Regions from separate parts of the Homo sapiens genome. Here region 2 is linked to region 1. Evidence: promoter capture Hi-C in human tissues and cell types (Jung and others, 2019). All regions are on one chromosome and are shown on one strand. The core of a region is centred on a gene start or on the middle of the fragment in contact, and the rest is flanking DNA. Distances in the headings are between cores, read along the strand shown.

Evidence for each region. The method cuts DNA at HindIII sites, captures the fragments that hold promoters and counts their contacts. A contact is called where the count stands out against the background at its distance.
Region 2: a fragment that was not itself captured here is called in contact with the fragment with the promoter of LIN28B in region 1 in 1 of the 25 tissues and cell types used here (spleen).

The regions. Positions count from the first base shown.
Region 1 is chr6:104,954,518-104,960,089 of GRCh38, forward strand. LIN28B (lin-28 RNA binding posttranscriptional regulator B) reads left to right here and starts at 2,590. Exons shown (of 4, transcript NM_001004317.4): 1 at 2,590-2,743; 2 at 3,582-3,769. The coding sequence starts at 2,734. RefSeq lists enhancers at 1,603-2,540, 2,541-3,478. The HindIII fragment of the contact is 4,416 bases long and covers 1,798-5,572 here.
Region 2 is chr6:105,380,934-105,386,505 of GRCh38, forward strand. The region is part of intron 2 of PREP (prolyl endopeptidase); the gene reads right to left. Among named protein-coding and RNA genes, the nearest start is that of PREP, 19 kb to the right of the region's middle. The HindIII fragment of the contact is 3,654 bases long and covers 590-4,243 here.

The sequences.
Region 1 (5,572 bases), core at 1,340-3,839:
TCGCCTCTTCTCTTCCCCTTTCTTTTACCCTCCCCCAAGGTATGTAAATGCATTTGTCTTAAATTCTTCATGAACGAATTTTAGAGGATTTTTCAGGGTTACCAGTTGGAAAAAGCCTTCTACACAACTTGAAAGGCTGATGTCCCTCTCAGGAAATGAATGAGTCGATAACCTCTGACACCAGTGACCACTCCAGTGAACCTTACCTTAATTCCACTAATACTGGAGGCCCCCAATCAGGCAAGACTGTGAATCTCATAACTATACTGTACAGTGTAGTTCAGTTATGGTATTCCACTTTTCACCCACATGTTCATAAATTTGAATTTCATCAAATTTAACAATAAACAGATTCTGAATCTACCTACATTATTATGCTTCTGGTTTTATAATGATTAAACTGTTTTCTAATTAAAAGCAAACTTAAATGAATATTTTACAAAGCTAAACTATACTGGCCTGTGAATTTTGTGATCATTACTTTTATGTAAGTAATAGCATTTCACCTCAATTTACATGAATACTTTCTGAGATTTTTTTCCTCTTATACCAGATGTTGATTTTTTAAAGTGATTATTAAAATATGAAAAAATATAAATTACTTTCTCGATTTCATATTATGTCACAAGCTTAGCCTGTAATGCCATCATTGAGATTACTTTCTTGTCAGTGTAATCAGTATAATAGAAGTAATTTCTACCATCAAAATAATGCCTAGTAAATGTTTTGTTAGTAAATAATTTTTTCAGAGCTTTGAGCTTTTGTTAAACTTTCAAAGTCATTGGATTTTTGCACCTTTTCTTTTCTCCCTAACAGCTGGCACAGGATTATTCCTCCCAAAATAAATAAAATGAGAAAGTAGCCCTTTTTCCTGAGAAATAACAAAAGGAATAACAGACAAAAAAAAAAATCTTTCCAAATTGATTAGTTTTCATTAAACCTTTTATCAAAAACAGCTGAAAATAACTTCTATTTTTTATACATCCATTTTCCAATCTGAGCCAATTAAATTTATATTTAGTTGTTTAATATGGGGAGGGAGTATAAATAGGTGTATACAGCTTTTTCCATAGCTCTTCGATTCATAATCCCTACATTTTAGCTTGTGTGAAACAGTGCTGGAGTGTGGATGTGTTTGAAGAGACTGGGAGGGGGATTGCTGGCATGGTGGGGGAGGGTCAACTCGGTAGCTTTGTCGAAGGAAGTGGTATCTGAACAGTTAGTTTCTTGGTAAACTGCTTGTTTAAGAAAATGGGGGGTGGGGTAGGCAAGTCTGGTGGTGCATTTTAAGGTTTTAAAATAGCGATATTTTATATTTTAAAGGAAATAAAGTCTTTTTAGTTAATCTATAATATTTATTATAGTATTCGATAAGGGCAGAAATACTGTTGCCAGCATCTTGTAATCAATCGTTTGAACCAGTTTGAAAGGTAAAGGGGGTAGGCATTTTGAAACTGGGGGTCAGTTGAGGAAGGACAGTAGGAGCTTCATCCGTTGTTACATTTTCGTTTATTCAACTCTTCTAGCCATTGGTAGTGGACTTTTAAAATGTCAGGGTACAAGTCAATATGATATGAATTTACCTTTTTTCTCCCACTTGTCCTTCTTTCTCCACCCCACCCCCTGCCCGCGCCGGCTTTTTTTCTCTCCCACCTCTTTCTTTGACTCTGCTGCCGCCTATCCTGGCGGCTCCTCTTCACCTCCCCTGCCTGGCGATCCCCTCCCCCTCCTGCCCTATGTCCTCCAGCTCTTGGGGAACAATCGCCACTGATTGAGGTTCACTCTATGTTAGGCTGGAAAACTGGGCTGTTATTTAGGAAGTCATTAATCACATCTCCTCCCCCGGAAAGAGATGGCAGAGAAACCTGTGAAGTACAATTCCTTACCAACCCCCTCTAAAATTTTCCAAAATGGTTTACCTAAACACAATTTGACTATATGAAGGTGAAAACGATTTTTCTAGTAGGATTTTATTTTAAATTTGAAAAAATTTCGGGCATAATCAGGTAATTTATGTGCCTCTGCCTTTTCCTAGGTGTATGTTTTCATTATCTAAAGTTTCATGGGGATGTAATTAGGTTTAATTAGATCTTTTATAAATTATATATTTTCCTCTAAGAATTGAATTAAATATGAAATTAGCGTTCCAAGCAGGTTTACTGCCATGGAATAGCTGAATTCTTAAGGGGAAAAAAAGCGTTAACATCGGTTGTTTTATTTAAACGACCCCCTCCCATGATTTTAGTCAGGCTTGTGTGTAAGGCACGCGTGTGCACATATATGACTGCCTTTTTTTCTAAATCTATGATTCACAAGGTCCCTCCATTGTGTTTAAGTAGAAGCACGAAATCAGCATTCTGATTTATCCTAAAGAAGCGTTCCAAATTGTCTTTAAGATAACATGTTTGAGTTTTTCGTGTTCATTCATAAATTATTTTGATGTCAGCATAGATGAAATGGCGATTGGTTATCTCTTCCTCTTGCCAGCCCCTTAAGGATACGAGGTGAAATTAGTAGCAAGAAAGCATGTAATTGACAAAGTCACGTGTGCTCAGGGGGCCAGAAACTGGAGAGAGGAGAGAAAAAAATCAAAAGAAGGAAAGCACATTAGACCATGCGAGCTAAATTTGTGATCGCACAAAATCAAGATGTTAGATTGATGCAGAAGATCACTCCGTTCCAAAGGGAAAGTTTTCATCTCACGAGTTTGGAGCTGAGGGCCCGTGGGGCAACATGGCCGAAGGTTAATTTTCTTTTCTATTGTTTTACTGTGAATTTCTTTCTTCTTTTCTCCTCCCCCTCCCCCTCTCCCACCCTTCTTAGACCGTCCCCCCCTTCCCCTTTTACCCCAATACTGGGCATTACCTCCCAACCCCCCATCACGCAGTGGGGCTTTCTGCAAACCTATTGTTATAGATCTCCAAAAATGTTTTGTACCGCCCACACTGATTCACAACTTGAAAAGCTTTCAGGGGGCTATTGTTTGAATTGTGTGAGTGTGATTAAGCGCAGTTTCAGTTAGTGATTCCAAGAAAACTTTTATACACCTGCCCCCTCCCCCATTCCACCCCAACTTTAATTGAAAGTTATGGGGGGGAGGGGAATGCACATTGCAAATAACGCTGGATTCAGTGCTGCCCCATGTGCCTTAACTAGTAGCTCTAAACCATCTTCACGATTTCTCTTTCCTCCTCGTGCCCGCCGGAGAGAATAGTTTCGCTGAAAATTTCTCTTTGTCAATGGGATCAGTATTAAATCAGCAATATACAAGTAAAGTATCGCATGCTGTAATGTAAAATGTGGCTGAAAAATGGAGTTAAATGAATAAGTACACGTATGTATAGAAACGTGGAAGTTGGTGTGATCGATAGAACAGTGTGGCTTCCCCCTCCCCCGCTTTCCTTTTAACCCTTTTCATTTTAAGTATTTTCTGTGGAGAAAAGAAATCAAACCATTAAAAAAAATTTTTTTTTTCTGTTACCCTTCCCCCCCAACCCCAGGCAGGCAATTTTTTTTTTTTAATCTTTGAATGCACATTGAATGGGAATACAGACTGACTTTTTTGTCCTGTTCCTTCTCAGGCGGGGCTAGCAAAGGTGGTGGAGAAGAGCCCGGGAAGCTGCCGGAGCCGGCAGAGGAGGAATCCCAGGTTTTGCGCGGAACTGGCCACTGTAAGTGGTTCAATGTGCGCATGGGATTTGGATTCATCTCCATGATAAACCGAGAGGGAAGCCCCTTGGATATTCCAGTCGATGTATTTGTACACCAAGTAAGCCAAACTTTTTTGTCCCCCTCTTCATCTTTTTCCATGTGGAGGAGCTGATCGGTAGTTATGCCAATAGACGTACGATAAGATGTCCTTCGGTATATTGAAAGACAAAATCTTCCCTGAAATCACTAGGTAGTCCAACGTTTAGGGTACGTGTATGGGCCTTTTCCTGGGTTTTCTGTCTAAAGAGAAAAGAAAATATTTGAAATTTCACTATATATATTAAGGTTGACGTTATTAGCATTTCCCCCTGCTTCATTCTACAGCGAAATAGTGTTCTTGTTGTTTCCGGTATTACCTATACAATATACTTTGTCGCCTGTATCTGGTGAATGGGTAGAAAAATGAAGAAACATGATCATTTTAAGGTTGAAAAAACAAAGCGAAACAGTTTGCTGTGGAAAGAAATGTATAGATTGCCTTATTTTAGACACCTCTAGTCACAGTAGCTCCCTTTATTATTTCATCGCTGCCTGTCCTGTAATCATTTTGTAGATTCAGATCAAAATAATTTGACTTCATAGTAAAATAAAATAGAACACTGTTGGCCTAATGTGGTTGTAAAGAAATGCGTGCAATAGAGGGATGCTTGATAAACATTTTAGAAATGTGCTCCGTGTAGTCATTGGTCTACGTATACTGTCTCTTTAAGAGACTGAACTCAAAAAAACATGTGGCCAGAGGCGGCTCTTGCTTGTGTGTTTAAAATGTGCTGGTCTGCTACTTGGGGTAAATTTCCACCTTTGCTCGTATTGTGTTGTAATTTTTAAAGATGTTTTAATACCAAACAGAATTTCATTGCTTCCCATTTTCAAAATTTTACCCAGGAAATAATGAATTAATACTTCTGCCTTTACTCCTCTCTACTGCTTAATCCCTTTATAGTAAAAAAGATACTTTTATGGAAGCCGGTTGTTTCCTCAAAAAAAGGTAAATATAAATTTTCTGTAGTTAGAAATAAAGAGGTTTACGACTAAAGAGGTTTATTTTGGCATGATAATCTAAGTTAAAAAGAATTGAATGAAAGGCTGTTAATACTACAGATTGACTGACAGATACATGGGTGAAATATTTGGTATATTTGCTTGAAAAGTATATATTTGATACTGTGTTGCATGTTCCTAGTAATATTTATACCCCCTTCCCTAAGGAATATCATCTTCAAATTAAATATATAAACAATAGAAACATATGAAACCATTCTGTTTTGATCTGTTGTCCTGTGGTGCTTGGTAGCTTCCTGACCTTGCTGTGTGGTGTGTGTTTTCCTTTCCTGAAGGCCTGGCCATCATTATTGGCTGTTTATATGTGGAAGGATCAGCATAATCTGTGAATTGAAACAGGGTTTAAGTACACAAATACAAGTCCACATACAGACTACTGGATTTTATGCTTCCTATTTTATAGTGCAAAATGAAGCTACATTTTCTGTTTTTTCCCCTCTAAGACTGGATGACAAAAATCATAGACAAATCCATTTTCTCTCAGGCTCTTTCTTCCACCTTTGAACCTTCTTTAGGTTGTTAAATTGTTTTTTATGATCTCATAAATTTGTTTTATAGATGAATGAAAAAAATAACCCTTCTTTGTCTGGTCACGCCTTTTTATAATTTGATTTTCTATGTTTACCTTCTAAAATATTCATCAAATGTTAAGATATTTTATTAACCAATGTTAATGTTTAGAACAACAAGACATTTGTGTTTATACTATTTAATGATTATATATTGATAAACATTCCTCTATTCACTGAATTAAAACATGTAGCTGCTGAAGTTTTTTAAATATATAGCTGTTTCTATA
Region 2 (5,572 bases), core at 1,167-3,666, 430 kb after region 1:
TATTTTGCTTTGCTTCTTTCACATGTCTCATGGTATAATTACAACTACTGCAACATAATTCATCTCACCCTGAAGCAGACACACTGGCTTTTCACATATAAAGTTTTCATAAAACTGTTATGCCAGGCATAAAAATGCTACCAAATAATTCTAGGATTAGTACATCCAATTTTGTCACCTCCTACCCACAAATGTTAGCTAATTACTTTAAATAGACCATTAAAGACTGCACTCTTCCAAGTCAAATATCTAGATGTAAAACCAGAGTGTCCAAATTCCTAAAAGTCTCAAGTTTTTTCATAACACACATCTTTATAACTCGGGCAAATCCTTTTCACGAAGGTGGTAGAAAATTTCTGTAAAGAAGCTTTGTTAAATTTAGGGTTACATAAATGCCAATAATATTTCTGATATTTTAACCAGGGAAATGCCTTCTTGGTCATTTATGTATTTAACAGGTATATCATCTTGGTTGATCTAAATATTAGAAAAAAAAATTGGGGAAAAGGGAGAAAAAGAATAAAAATAAAGAAAAAGAAAATGGAAGTGTTACATGGTGATAAGGAAGCAGGGTGAGGAAAACACAAATTCCTTGTTGTTCAAGGAGTTTCAGTACCCGCAGTCTCATTCTAGGATGTATTAAAATAACTGAAATATGAAAGCCCTGATGCACGCAGCTGAGCTTCTAAAGAGAGTCAACAGTTTAGATTTTATATCCATAGATGAATCTGAACACATTTTCCTAGCAAAGAGTAGCTGCTCAAAACTAAGAAATCTTACTTATATCTCATGTGCCTTGACTATTAGAAAGCTTAAAAGCAAAGCAAAGCTTCAGTTATGCAAGATCATTAAGTTCTAGAGATCTGCTGTACAACACTGTACCTATAGTTAGCAATACTATATTGTGCACAGAAAAATCTGTTACAAGGGTAGCTGTCATGTGAAGTGTTCGTACTGCAATTTAAAAAAGAAAAAGAAAAGCTATTTGGAAAGGGGTGGCTTAATTTGGGAGCTGAGATTCCTTTACTCCTAATGTCTTCAGAAAATTTTTTTCAAAGTGCCCTCATGTACTCTATTTTAATACACAAAATACTGCAGTCCTACGAAATAAGCCAGGCACGGAAAGATGAATACCTCATGCTCTCACTTATATGTTTTATTTAAAGGAGTCAAACTCACAGAAGCAGTAAAATGGTGTTTACCAGAGGCGGGGGTTGGGGGAGATGTTGGTAAAAGGACACAGAGTTTCAGTTAGACAGGAGAAATAAGTTCAAGAGATCTATTGTACAACATGGTAACTGCCTGAAAATTGCTAAGAGGGATTTTAAGCGTTCTCAACACACACACACACACACACACACACACACACACACACACACAAAGTATGTGAGGTAATTACACATATGTTAAATAGCTTGATTTAGCCATTTCACAATTTCTACATATATCAAAATGACGTGCTACACACCTAAATATATACAATTTTCACCTGTCAATTTGAAAAATTGACTTACGAAATACAGATACAGGCTCACTTACTGATTGCCTTAACTTTTCCCTTTCTAAATGGAAGTGTAAATTAAAAATACTGTTCACTTAAAAAAAACTCATCTTTTTACAATTCTTACATAAATGAATAAAAATTATGCCTAGAATTACTCATTAAATAAATATTTATACAAAACACTACAATGTGCACCATGGTGATTAACAAGATGAATGAAAGATAAAGATATGTGCTAGAGGAGAACAAATAAAGGGGAAGCTACTTCCAGGGCAGGGCAGGGTGGGCTGGGGCAAGTGCCATTGGCAGGCAGGCAAGACGACCAGGAGGGACTTCCAGGTAGAGACTGGCTCAGGCCCGGGTATCAACCTCCCCTCTTCTGAAATACCAATGAAAACTAAGAGTGGTGCTATCTACATCCCACAGGCTTTGAGGAGCATCTGTTACAAATAACAGATATAGGACTTGGTTAAGCAACTATCAGGGGCTTCTGGAGAAAGTGGCAAAAACCATAATCCCAGCCTAAGTGAAAGGCATGGGCGGCACACTTGGATCCCCTCTCACTTTAGCAGAATTTGGAATTTGGAAATGACTCTCCAAGTACAGGGACAGCCCCATCAAAAAGCAGCCAAGAGGCGCTCACCCTGAGGCTGTAGGACTTAGGGCCAGGAGGGCAGGACAGTCAAGGTAGGTCATGCACAAAAGAGAATTAGATGCAGCTGCTTTTCAGGAAACACGTCCAGAAATGGAAACAATAAAAGATTGGAATAATGTACTTTCCAAGGCTAATATCTATGCCAAGGAATCTCTACCATTAAAAAAAAAAAAAAAAGAGTGCTCGTAATTTTCCAGGACTTACTCAATATTTACAAAAATCAGCAGCCCATCAGACAACAAAGGGGGAATCTTAAGCCCCAGAAAGAAAAGCTTGTTCAGGTCACAGTTTTGACCACAATGCCATTAACCTCACCACATGAAGTGCTTTCTTTTCCTGGCCCACAAGCAACCCCCTACTCATTCTCAAGGTGGAGAAATATTCTAGTTCAATCAGTGAGAGCCCAAAATCTTTTGGGCTCAACTTTAACATAAAAAACCCAGAGTGGGCCCATCTCTTCTCTCTGGGACCATCTGCTCTTGGGTGAAAAGGGCTCATAGTAAGCTTCCTGCTGCACATGATCAGCAGACTAGGCGGAGCCTTCTAGAAGCCTGTCAGGCCTCTTTCCACCTCTCTGCTTGTCCCCGTGTGGGTAAATCAACTCGTTCCCTCACTGGGACTAGTTACTATCAATTAGGGAGGAAGCAGAAACCGTCACTCCGACCTGATATTCAAGCCTTGTTCTCAATACTCGTCATGACCAGGGAAAACTGAAATTTTAACCCCATTAGGCTCCATTCTTTGGTGTATACTTTCCTGACCAAAAACCTGGTGAAGAGGTGATTTGCACCTCAAATCCAAACCTAACTAAATATCTGATCGTGAGGACATTAAACACACTCATATCCTCCCTCTCCTGAATAATTCTGTATCAATGAGGAAATCCAAACTGTAACAAGATTACTTAGAAAATACGAAGAAATAAGAAAAACAAGACTATCACACATTAAGTTTCATGGGATGTGGCAAACACTGTTGGAGTTGACATCTATTTCTTTCTGGTGCCATATGAAGTCCCACTGATAGTTGGGGAAAGGGTGTGACCGCTGCTGGCCAATCAGAATGTCCCTCCCCCAGACCACGGCTGGGCAGGACCTCAAGCAGGTGAGGCTGCGGCTCATCTCAGGGCTTGCTGGCATGACTCACCCATCAGGGAGCCAGCCTCTTCCAGTCCTGCACTACTGAATTCAGGAGTGTACAGGAAGCAGGCTTGGGAGACTGAGTGCTCATGCTTGGTTATGCCAGGTACCGAAGGGCAGTGATCACACTGTGACTGATGAGGAACATCTGGCTGGAACGGTGACAGTTATACCTTCAGAAAGTTTGAGGTTTACCCTCTTTCTCCATCAGATCGTATCATCTGCAATTGAGCATTCTCAGTGAGGATTCTTGGTACCGCTCGCTTGTACCTCCATCTGTCATAGATAATGTGACAGACACCTCTGTCTGTATTCTAACTATGCTAACTCCCTTCCACGTTGTTTATATAAGTAAACCCTGTTCATTTTCATAAGCAAAGTCTTTCCATCAATTCTAACCCACAGGCAATAGTCAACAAAATAGTAATAGTAGTAAACCCAGGCAAAACAATCAGAATCCTTTTTTAGGGACAGAGATGAGTATTTGAAGGGAGAAGTTATCTCAACTTAAGACACTTGGGGCTACAAGGACTGTGAGAAACCCAAAGAGACAAGACCCATCTTTCTCTGCCACACAGGAGTGGCTGCTGGAAAAATAAAATTATCAGAGAAAAGCAGATGACCTAAGAGAAAAAGACAGGTTCCCAAAAATACCACATGCACTCCTGGATCAGACTGTGCCTAAAGGCACTTATACCCTGAACCCCAATAACGTGAGCCACTCAGCTCCTCTTTTTATGTGAGCTGGTCTGAGTTGGGATTCAGGTACCAGTAATAAAGTGTCCTAACACAGCTTTCCTTGGAAGCCTCTGGTTTTCTGAACGAGATGAGACTGGATGACCATGAGCAGGCTGGAAAGAGGAGAGCTGACCAGAAGCTTGCTCCAGGGCTGGCTGGGGATGACTGAGCAAGTTCTCTACAATAAAGGTGTTTTATGAGAAAGAATAAACTTTAAGCATTAAAATAAAAAATTTTAAAATAACAAGAGAAAATAAGAAATCAATGAACTAGAAGCTTTTAAGCATGAAACTTAGACTTCCTAGATCTGCTTTAAAAAAAAAAAAAAAAAAAGAAAAAAAGCACATTTAGCCAAAGCTCTGGCTAAACTAATCAAGCAAAGATGATGCTACAGATACTCAAATTTAGAAATTATAAACAAATATAACCACGGATTGGGAGAATAAAGTCATTTAAAAAGCATATTACACATAACTTCATGCTAGTAATTTTTAAATCTCAATGAAATGAATAATTTACTAAGAAATACAAAGGACTAAAATTGATCCAAAAAGAAAGCAGAACTGAACAGAGCAATGACTGTGAAACAAAATGGGGGGAAAAAACCCAAGAATTAATTGCAATAAAAGAACTTGTCCCAGATAACTCTAAGGATGAAGTTTTTCAAATTATCAAAAACCATAATTTCCATATTATTTAAATGGCTCAATAATGAGTGCAATGGTGAGCATTTATTAAGCACTTACTATGTGCCTGCTACTTTGCTAAATGGCTCAAAAACACTATCATTTAATGTTAACAATTATATGAGGTGGTTTTCTCCAAATTACAAGTCAGAAAAATGAGGCTAAAAAACACGACCAATTGTCAGACTGGGTGTGGTGGCTCACATCTGTAATCCCAGCACTTTAGGAGGCCAAGGCAGGCAGATCACGAGGTCAGGAGATCGAGACCAGCCTGGCCAACATGGTGAAACCCCACCTCTACTAAAAATACAAAGATTAGCTGGGCGTGGTGGCGCATGCCTGTAATCCCAGCTACTCGGGAGGCTGAGGCAGGAGAATTGCCTGAACCAGGGAGTCAGAGATTGCAGTGAGCCGAGATAGCACCATTGCACTCCAGCCTGGTGACAGAGCAAGACTCCATCTCAAAGAAAGAAAGAAAAAAACCAACATGACCAATGTCTAATAAAATTGTGGAGCTAAGATTCAATCCTGCCTTTCTACCTCTAAAGTTGCTCATTTAACAACTATACGCACTGCCTTCCTATGAACAGGCAGAGGTTCCAACATTGCTAAGGGTTCTCATTAGTTGCTAGAGGGAGCAGAGTAAAAAGAAAAGTCTGGAAGAAAAGAGACAAGTTAGGAAGTTACTGAACATCTAGCTCAGTGGCAATGTATGAGAGACCCAGGGAGGTGTTGGCACAGACAAGAGCGCAAGTAGAAAGTCATGAGATTTTATGGAGGTACAACTGGAGCTCCAGAGAGTCATGTATATGATTAAATGAAGAGCTGATTCAAATGGTCAGAGGATCTG